Regions from separate parts of the Homo sapiens genome. Here region 2 is linked to region 1. The links are contacts of gene promoters, found by promoter capture Hi-C in blood cells and fetal thymus (Javierre and others, 2016). All regions are on one chromosome and are shown on one strand. The core of a region is centred on a gene start or on the middle of the fragment in contact, and the rest is flanking DNA. Distances in the headings are between cores, read along the strand shown. Region 1 holds the start of PPP1R17 (protein phosphatase 1 regulatory subunit 17). Region 2 has its middle 170 kb from the start of PDE1C.

Region 1 (5,562 bases), core at 2,898-5,397:
GGTGCTGGATACAAGAACTTACACAAATGATAAAATTGTATAGAACTCAATACACACAGACAGAGTTGGGGAAATCTGAAGATAGGTGGATTGTACCAATATCAATACTGTCTTTGAGATACTGTGATATTGTGCTGTAGTTTTACAAAATGTCACCATCAGGGGAAACTGTGCACAATATACAAGGGATCTATCTCTCTGTATTATTTCTTACAACTACATGTGAACTACAATTATCTCAATTAAAATGCCAATTAAAATAAAATAGGAAAAGACAACCATTCACCTTGCCTCTTATTTTAGTAGGTATTTATTGTTTAATGTGACAATTCATATCTGAAAGATTAAATATTTTCTATTTTTTTTCAGTGAAATGATAATAAATGACATCAGATTTTCTTATAGATTAAAGAGTTCCCTATTATCAGGACCTGACATGTGTTCAAAACTGCCCAGAGCAAAGACACAGTGCTCACTTACCAGGGGATATTGATCTGAGACAGCTCACTCTCCTCTCTAAGAGGCTGATGGAGACAACCAACGAGATCCAGCAAGATCTCTGGGATAAAACAGGCCTATGAATATTCAGTGCTCTCTCTTCCTCTCTCTTTCCCCCTCCCTGAATTGAGAAGGTGGAGCCTCATCACTCATCAGCACAGAAACTACCCCTAGATTGGCTATGAAAGGCAAATCTTTTAAGAGAACATTTTATAGATTATTGACTAAAATAAATTGTCTGGAAATGCTCAATCATTTTATAAATAATTCTTATTCATAAAGATGGGATATTTGTGATTAAAGTGAAATATATTCATTTAAAGCTAGTTACCATCAGGCATCCATCAGGAATGAAGGCACAAGTGAATTCAGCCATACATCAAAGGGCTCTTGGACTACAAATCATGCCATGGACACAACGGCTCCTTGCACTTATGCTGGGAGCGCTGTAGGCTGAGGGTCTATGACTTCAGCACTGCACATATGTGGTTGTTATTTAGAACTCTCCAAGGTATAGATTTACATTACCATCTGCCCTGTCAGTTGCTGTTTACATCTGCCTTAAAAGGGGGAGGGGCATAATCAATTAAAGAGTATGTACGAAGCCCTGGGAAAAATCAGCAACAGCAACAACAGCCCGAACTTGGGAGTAGTAGACATGTCTATTCAAAGGGGAAATCAGGGATTCATACTCTTCTGTCTTTGAAAATATTCCCTTTGAACTGTGGAAATTAAGTGACAAAAGGATTTGTTAAAATCTACAGGCTGGAATATGCTTAACACAATTAAGCTTCTCCAAAGAGCCTCAGAAAAATCTAAATTATATATTTTAAAATTCATTAATGATGAATTGGACTTTATAAAAATTTAAAAGCTATGCTTTGTGAAAGACTCCATGAAAAGATTAAAAATACAAACAGCAAACTGGGAGAAAGTATTTGCAACCCATATTTCTAATAAAGAACTAGTATCTGGAATATCTAGGATCCAGTTCAAAACTCAACAGTAATATAAAAAGTCCCATTAGAAGGTAGACAAGAGACATGAAGTAACATTTCACCAGAGAAACTACGCAGATGACAAATAAGCACATGAAAAAATGTTTAGCATAATTAGTCATGCACAGAATGCAAATTAAAACCATGACGAGATATTACTACTGAACCTACCTCTGAGAATGGCTTTTTAAAAATACTGGCAACACCAAATTCTGGTGAAGATACAGAGAAACTGGACCCTTCGTACATTGCTGGTGGGAATGGGAAATGCTACAGCCGCTTTGGTGTTATTGTAAAAGGAAACATGCAATTGTCAGTAATTACTCTTCTGGGCATTATCCCAGAGAAATTAAAAATTATGTTCACGCAAAAGCCTCTCTACATGAATGTTCATAGCAGCTTTATTTGTAATAGCCAAACATTGGTAACAATCCAGGTGTATATACAAGATGTCACACCAACTGTGGTCCATTCTATGGAATACTATTCAGCAATGACAAAGAACAAATTATTGACACACACAACAACCTGAATGGATCTCTAGGGAATAATGCTGAGTGAAAAAAAAAAAGCCAAACCCAAAAGGCTACCTACTGTATTATTCCATTATTAAAACATTCTTGAATTGACAAAATTATAGAAATGGAGAATAGATTCATGGTTGCCGAGTTTAAAAAGTGATTGGGAGCAGGAGGTTAGGAAGGAACGGAGGGGGGCATGGCTATATAACGGCAAGATAAGGGAGGCTTGTGGTGACAGAAATGTTCTGTATATATTCATGTAAATATCAACATACTGGTTTTGATATTGTAGGATAGTTTCATAAGATGTTACCATTGGATATAACTGCTTACGTATAGGAGATCTCCCTGTATTATCCCTCACAACGACATGTAGATCTATTACCTCAAAACAGTTTAATTCAAAAGAAGAATTCAAGGATTTCAGAAGGAAAGTATATCTTTTCCACTCAAGTGTGGACTGAAGATGCTGCTAACTCATTGGCCAACAAGGCTGTTGTTAAGAAGATAAAGTAAGGCAGGGTTTAATGCCTAGGTGATGGGTTGATAGGTCCAGCAAACCACCATGGCACACGTTTACCTATGTAACAAACCTGCACGTCCTGCACATGTGTCCCAGCACTGAAAATAAAATAAAATTTAAAAAATGAAGAAGATAAAGCAGGCAGTTTTGAACACAGACCTGCTTCTAGGCCCTGTCCCTCAACATCTAGGGCCTTCCCTTCCTAGACAAGAGCATCACCTTTCAGCAACCCTCATCTCTTCCCAGGAGGTCCCAATAAGGATCAACACAAAATGGAACAGGCAAAGAAGTCCATTCTCTGCTTATCTGTTACCATGGCAAAAGTCTAACCCTAGGAGTCAACCTCTTGGTGAGTTTACTATGGTTCTAGCCCTGTTATTTGGGATCCTGGCAAGTGGGAGGGAGGCACCAACAAACACATTGCCAGTGGCAAGCAGGCAGTTGAAACCAAGGGGTTGCCAGGGACCTGCTCTGCAGGGAACCTCAGGTAAGACTGGAAAAAATATGGATGTGTGGATGGTGCTCACGTATCTTCTGTGAGAACATATTTCTTGGGCATCACTGGGTGGTCCATTGGCTGCTATCAGGGGGTCTGGAGCCCTTCTAGTGGGTCCTGATACCTACCTGATCTCCCAGACTGGCCTTCCTGCTTTGGAGTCAAAACTGCTGCTCCTCCAAACCCCAGTGGGCTCTCCTCCAGTGAGCAGACCCAAAACATAGAACCTTCCTCTCCAAAAGACAGCATGTCTCCCGCCTCTCCCACCTTGCTTAAACATCCACTCTTGAGTGCCTACGTATTCCTAATATTGGTACATTTGGCTTTGTTCCTTTGAAGGAGGAAATTTTTTCTGGCCTGCACACTATAACCTATAGAGTTGGGGGCTGCTTTCTTTGCTATGTGCTGTTTGAAATGCTCTCTTTGCTGAGAGGTATTGCAAAGTGGTTACAAGCGTGGACCCTAGCATTTCATTACCCCATTCAAACCCTAGCTTCACCATGTGGGGAGACCTTGGTCAGATGATTTGGTAACTCTTGAGCCCCAGCTTCCTCATCAATAAAATGGGATGATGACTGTAGCTCATCTCACAAGGTTGGCCTGAGGGTTAAGTAAGTAGATATGTGTGAAGTCTCTAGAAGAGTGTCTGGCATTTTGGTAGCCTTACATAAATGTTAGCAGTAGCTACCCTTCTCTTCCTCCTCATGATAGTACTTTGAGAAGCAGCAATAGTGATTGAAAGTACTCTGGATTTAAACTTAAATAGCTTTGAGAGTCGAAATTAGCTGTGGCCTCTCTTGGGCATATCACTTAACTTCTTGTGCCTCAGTTTCCATATTTACAAAATCAGGCCAAAAAAAATCTATCGCATGGGAATTCAATGATGTAGCTGGTTTGTCTGAATTTCTCTGGTGTGCACACCGGAAACTCAAAGCACGACTCTATACTGTACTTTTGTAATGTACAATGATTGCCGTGGAGAGCAGCGATGGAGATGTTAGTCCTCTTTCCTTCTCCATCCCCCTTGCCCTGGTGCCTGTGAAACAGAGCATCCCCATGGCAACAGCAGCAGCTGGTCCCTAGATAAGAGGAGCTGGAGCCGGCCAGCAGCAGCCACTGCCGCAGAGGAGCCAGGCCCAGCCTCGGTGAGCACACACGCCCTCCCTGTCTCTCGCCTTCGCTTCCCTGCATCTGCGCTGATTGGTAAGTGCTTCAGATTTTTACTCCAAGAACTTTTGTGGTGAGAAAAGCAAGTTTCCAGTCAGTTACTGGGACAAAGAAGGCTGTAGCTGGTGGCACGGGGTTGTGCTTTATGGAGCAAGGCTAAGCTGGGGCCGAGTGGACAGCAGAAAAAGTTACCACTTTCAAGTCATTCTTCCAAGGGAGGGAATGGAGTTCTGTAAAAGACTGAACCCTCACAAACTCATTTGCAAAGTTTCAAGATGAAGTTGGTGTATCTGCATATTCACACAGGATAGAGAGGTTTATCTTCCAAGGCTGGGGAAAGTACAGAAAGTATGCTTCTCAAAACACATTCTCCATGCCCTACTTTAAGTCAGTCTCTCCTCCAGGAATACTGCCAATTTAGGTTTTCTAAATGAACAAATCTGATTTTAAAAGACGGTACTTTTTGACCTGAATTCAATCCTCTGGTTAAAAAGAGGTTTGACAATGAATATGTATTTTACATAGCCAGAGGGTGCATTAACGAGATACCACATAGGCTGTGGATACAACCTTCTACCCTTTTATTCCATCCAGTAAATCAAGACCTGATTACTTTGGGGGATATTCTTCAGAATACCGTATGGTAAGCTAAGTGTCAACTCGCTTCTGAGAATCAGTTCTATTATGTTCCCAAGATTTAGAAATGGGTTGGTTTTTGTCTTGAACTATTCTCATCTCATTACCAGCTTCAGAGAAGGCCAGAGATGGGATAAAGAGATAATTCTGATAGATCAATTTAGATAGACATATAATCACAAATGGAGGACTGAAAGATCCAAGAAGGTCCCTCACACTCACGAAAATATCAGTGTGTAGGACCTGGGCTCGGGACTCCATGCACATTCTATGGGTAATACTCTCAACAACCCTGGAGAAGAGCCACTATCTTCCCCCATTTAACAGATTTGAAAACTAAATTTTTGAGAGAACAGATAACTGTCCCAAGTTCACCCAGCTAGAGAGTGGTACAAGCAGCCAAACGTTGGCTTCTACCTTATATTGACTCACAGCATCCAATCTTAAAGTTGAGAGGAATTTTCTTCCCATAATTTAAACCGCATATTCTCACATCCAACTGAGAAAACCGCTCAATGATAAGAGAAAAGACAAAAAATCCAGACCAGCTTCTGACCACACACTGAACCAACTAATGTGTTTCAGCTCCGCTGGTGTGCCTGCCTTTCTGCAATATAGTGGGGTCCCTTTTCTGGCACCCAGTTCCTTCCCCCTTTCAGTTCCTGTTCTCAAAAGAGAAGGTGACCTTTGTCATTAACAATCCCTGTGTATTGTGACATCAAT
Region 2 (5,507 bases), core at 588-3,087, 550 kb after region 1:
CCTACCACCACGCCCGGCTAATTTTTTTGTATTTTTAATAGAGACAGGGTTTCACAGCGTTAGCTAGGATGGTCTCGATCTCCTGACCTCGTGATCCGCCCATCTCGGCTATTCATGTAATATTCTTAAAAATAATAAAATTATAATGTCAGAGAACAGATCTGTAGTTGCCACGGGCTAGGGATTGGGAGGGAGTTTGATTATAAAAGGATTACACAATGGAGTTTCTTTTGGGTAATGGAACTACTCCATACTCTTACTCTGGTGGTACACATATGAATTTAAATATGTTAAAACTTACTGAACTGTATGCCAAAAATAATTCTACATTAATTTAAAAAATAAAATTTGAGGCAAAAAAAATCTCAGCAAACTAAAAATAGGAGAAAACTTCTGATCAAGAGAATCTACTAGACACCTACCAAGCATTCTTCTAAGAGGTGAACATGAGAATTCCCTTTAAGGTCAATAATGAAATAAGGATAGCCACTATCCGCACTTGGCTCTGTGTATATATATATATATATATACTTTTTTTTTTTTTTTTTTTTTTTTTAGACAGAGTCTCGCTCTTGTTGCCCAGGCTGTAGTGCAATGGCATGATCTCGGTTCACTGCAGCCTCCGCCTCCTGGGTTCAAGCAATTCTCCTGCCTCAGCCTCCTGAGTAGCTGGGATTACAGGCATGTGCCACCATGCCCGGCTAATTTTGTATTTTTAGTAGAGATGGGGTTTCTCCATGTTGGTCAGGCTGGTCTTGAACTCCCGATCTCAGGTGATCCGCCCACCTCGGCCTCCCAAAGTGCTGGGATTGCAGGCGTAAACCACCACACCTGGCCAAAGGTTATAAGTTTTACCTAGGAAATCCAAGACAATCCACAGACAAATCATTAGAATTAATAAGAGAGTTAAGCAAAGTTGCTGGATCTAAGGCTAATAACAAAAATCTATATTGTGTTCCTTTACACCACCAATGTACAATTAGAAAGTATAACTTTTCAAATGACATCTTCTACAATGGCAATACGAATTTATAAAGTGCCAAGGAATAAATCTAGCTAATGCATCAAAACCATTATGAAGAAACTTATAAAATTTTATTAAAAGATAGTAAAGAAGATCAGATATTGATCCTCTTCATGAATAGGAAGACAACAGCATAAAGATGTCAGTTCTCTCCAAATAAAGTTATATATTTTAACTAAGTGTTTGTAAAGCATTTAGAACAGTGCTTGACATATAATAAGTGAGATATAACTGCTGTTGAATAAATAAATCAAAATTCCAACAAAGGTTTTTCATGGAACTTGACAAGCTTGTTCTAAAATTTGTAAGGCAGAACAATGGTCCAAATATAGCCAAAGCAATCTTGAAAAACAGAGGTGGGAGGAAGGATAATGTTCATTCTATCAGATATTAGCACTTAATTATGAAACCATTAAGACAATGTTTTTATTGGCCCAGGAGTAGACAGACTAATGGAATGAAATAGAGTTCTAAAATGTTTGCTATATGAAAACTTGATATAGAACAAGTTACAAATTAGTAGATGCTGGAACTGTTAGTTATCCATATTGGGGAAAAATAAAGTCCTAATTCACACCATTTACATCTTTCAATTCAGGAAGAATAAAGACCTAAACATGAACTGGGAAATGTTATTTCCTCAGGGTATGAAAGGACTCAGACCATAAAGGAAAGGATTGACAAGCAACAACAAAGTGTTTTAAAACATCTGTTTCAGAAGATAAGCAGACTGGGCATAGTAGCTCATGCCTGTAATACCAGCACTTTGGGAGGCCAAGGCAGCAGAATTGCTTGAGGCCAGGGGTTTGAGACCAGCCTGAGCAATGTAGCAAAACCCTATCTTCACAAAACATTTTAAAAACATAAGGCTGAGGTGGAAGGATCGCTTGTGCTCAGCTCAGGAGTTGAGTCTGCAGTGAGTCATGATTGTGCCACTGCACTCTAATATGGGTGACAGAGTGAGACCCTGTCTCTAGAAAAAAAATATATATAGCCAAGCGTGATGGTGTGTGCTCATACTAGCTACTCAGGAGGCTGAGATGAGAGGATTGCTTGAACCTAGGAGTTCTGGGTTGCAATGAGCTATGATTGCACTATTACACTCCAGCCCAAAAGACAGAAGGAGACTCTGTTTCTTTAAAAAAGAAAATCCATAAACAAAGTGCAATACAAACCAGAGAGCAGAAGAATATATTTATAACCAACAAAATACTAGTATACAAAATACAAAAAGAACCCTGTAAGTCAATACAAAGCAACAAATAATGTAATACTTTTTAAAATTAGATAAAGTAGATAAACAGGCAACTCACAAAAGTGGAAACTAAAATGGATAATAAGCTTTTTTAAATGCTCAACTTTACTTTACTAATAATCAGGAAAATGAAAAACTAAAACCACAATGAAATAGCATCAAATTAAGTATAGCAATGTTCTTTAGAGGACAGGGAGAGAAATGAGACCAGAAAGTAGGTCACAGAGAGCTCTGACTATATTTGTAATTGTGACAATCACTAGAACCATTCACAAACATTTAGGTTCCACTCCTTTTAGGCACATGGTAGGATTGTTCTTCCTCACACCTTTAAGCTAGGCAAGTATATGTGATTTGCTTCTGCCAAGGAAATGTATGCAGAGATGTCACTTGTAGATGGAAACCTTTAAGAGCCAGCATGCAATTCAGCATCTCTCTTTCCTTTTGTCACAATCTCTCAGTGACTGACAACAATGCTGTCAGCCTGGATCCTGAATTGGGCCCCCTGCCACCCCATGTATAGGCATGCACCATGAGTTAGAGGTTTGTTTGTGTGGATTTTTTGTTGTTTGTTTGTTTTAAGCCACTTACATGTGAAAGCTGTTTGTTACGGCAGCATAAGCTAGCCCATTCTGAGAGTTACCTTTTATTCCTTTAACTGGGTGGAGGGTAGGTGTATGCACATTATATTATTCACTGTACTTTGTGGATATAAAATATTTCATAATTTTTAAAGAACAGTTTATGGTAATGAATGATTATCTGGATTAAATATAAGACATACATGCCTCCATTCTACAAATATTAACTGAGGGCTTACTATATGCTAGGCACTCTTCCATGTGCTAGGGATTCAACAGTGAACAAAATGGTAAGTCCCAGATTTTGCAGAGCTTACAAGAGGAAAGGCAGAAAACAAACAGATACATATTTAATATGTCAGATGGTGTTGTTTACTATGATAAAAAATAAAGCAGGGTTAAGGGTATAGAGAGGAGGAAAGTATTATTTTAAACAGTGTGGTCAACAAAGTCTCTGACACAGAAACATCTGAGCTGGTGAAAAGAATGCAGGGATTTAGGAGAGGGAGGAGAGACAGTAAGGGGCAAAAATTTTACTAAAAAAGGTGAGGACTCTTGTGTCTGGAGCTGAATGAGAGAGCTAGGAACAAGACAAGATGGGGTCCTCCAGACCATAGAAGGCCACCAGGGGGTTTGGAGCAGAGCAGGGATATGACCTGACATGTTTTTAAAGGGTCATTCTGGCTGCTGTGGCAAGAATCTTTAAGAATTGGTGGGTGGAAGCAGGGAGACCACTTGGGAGGCTAATACAAGATTCAGTCAAGAGAAAATAGCGATTTGGTCAAAAAGGAGAGCTGAAGGTGGTGAGACATGATCCACTTCAGGATTATGGGTGGGACAACAGAATCTGTGGTTGGGTTGGATATGTAGTATGAGGAAAGAGGCAGGTCAAGGATGACTGTAAAGCATTGGCCTGAGCAACTGCAAGAACGGAGATGCCATTATCTGAGTAGAAAAGACTGGAGGAAGGGCAAGTTGGGGGAGAGGGCCGGACCAATTTGGTTTATCTATGTTCTGTCTGAGAGTCCTATTAGAATTCCAAATGGTGGCATCAAATAGTCAATTAGATACATGAGCCTGGAGTTCAGGGGAAAAGTTCAGGCTACAGTAGTCAGCCTGCAGCTGGTATTTAAGCCATGGACTGAATTAGCTCACTTACAACATAAATGTAGATAGAGAAGCCACCCAAGGAATTAACCTTGACGCAGCACAGCCAACCTAGAAGGAGCCTCCACTGAAGAAGAACCAAGAGTTGTACCTCATACCCAAGTGAAGAAGATGTTTTAAGAAGGAGGGAGTGGCCAACCATGTCAAATGCTGCAGGGTGTCAAATATGATGGCTTCTGGATTTGGCCAATGTGGAGGTATTGGGTGATCCTGACAAAAGCAATGCCATTGGAGTTGTGGTGGGGTGCAGGACTGGTGTAGACTGAAGAGAGAAAACTGAGTCTCCATGTAAAAAAAAATTATGTTAAGAAATTTTTCTACAAAAGATATCTAAGAAATGGGGCAATCACTAGAGGAGACGGTTATGTCAATACATGGTTTCTTTTTAAAAATGGAGGCCATTAGAGCATATATGCATGTGGGTAAGAATAATCCAGTGGAAAATGAATAATCAGTCATGCAGTGGGGGGGCAGCACTTGCAAGCAAAGTTCCTGAGAAGGTGAGAGAAGATAGGATCCATTTCACCAGTAAGGATGCTAGCCTCAGCCACCGCCTATCTGCTGTATCCACAGAGAGGAGATGGGTAGACACAGCAAGTGATGGAAACAAATGCAGAGTATGTGAGTGCAGATGCAGGGAGGGTGGGAGATACAGCAAGGGGAGCATGTGGAAGTTCTCTTCTGATTGCTTCTACCTTCTCAGGGGGATAAGAATCAAGGTCATCAGCAGAGAATGGGAAGAGTGGGCAAATTTTGAGAATATAAAATAGTTGTCTCTCAGAGTGGGAGAATGCACTGACCAAGATTTGCCAGATAGCACAAGGATCCATTATAAGATTTGTGGTCATGAATTTTTAAATGAGGCAGTAAGCATGGTTTACCTGGATTTGGGGTTTGCCAAGCAAATAGAGGGGAGAGAGAGTTGAAAAGGTATGCAAGGGAGTGATTGTAATGGTAGCCCATGAAAACAAAATGGGTAAGGAGGGAACTTAGAGTCTGATAGGGCTGATGGACAATGAAGATAGGTTCAAGAATTCGGAGTTCCCAGGGGGTTGAACAATTGTTGAAGGTGGGCATCTAGAAGGAATGAGCTGGGAGCAAAGAAAGGAGTAGTCAATGAGATGTTGCTAATGGGGTTATTGGAAGGGATGCAATTATTGGTAAAAGCCTAGGGTATGCCCATGGAAGCAAGTAGCTAAGAAGGCAAGATCATTCGAGGTGAGGAAGTCGGTTAATGAAAAGAGAAGGGTATTGGGAGGATTGTCTCTTTGGTAAATCAAAATCACCAAAAACTATGACAAAAATGGTGGCCTGGGTGCAAATGTCTTCGAGGAACAATTGGAGGTAGCATATAGGTAACCATAACAAAGAGGGGTGGTGGGTGGCAGAGACTGGTGGCAGGAGCTTTAAAAGAGCTGTGGGGGCTTCTAAGGAGGATGCAAGAACAATGGCCCAAAGCAGCCATGAGAAGGGAGAAGTT

The links. The method cuts DNA at HindIII sites, captures the fragments that hold promoters and counts their contacts. A CHiCAGO score of 5 or more calls a contact.
Region 2: a fragment that was not itself captured here is called in contact with the fragment with the promoter of PPP1R17 in region 1 in 1 of 17 cell types (neutrophils); the score reaches 7.7 in neutrophils.

Annotation. Positions count from the first base shown.
Region 1 is chr7:31,683,068-31,688,629 of GRCh38, forward strand. PPP1R17 (protein phosphatase 1 regulatory subunit 17) reads left to right here and starts at 4,148. Exons shown (of 5, transcript NM_006658.5): 1 at 4,148-4,239. It also overlaps a transcript of PDE1C not described here. The HindIII fragment of the contact is 9,056 bases long and covers 1,287-5,562 here.
Region 2 is chr7:32,237,233-32,242,739 of GRCh38, forward strand. It overlaps a transcript of PDE1C not described here. Among named protein-coding and RNA genes, the nearest start is that of PDE1C, 170 kb to the left of the region's middle. The HindIII fragment of the contact is 1,052 bases long and covers 1,312-2,363 here.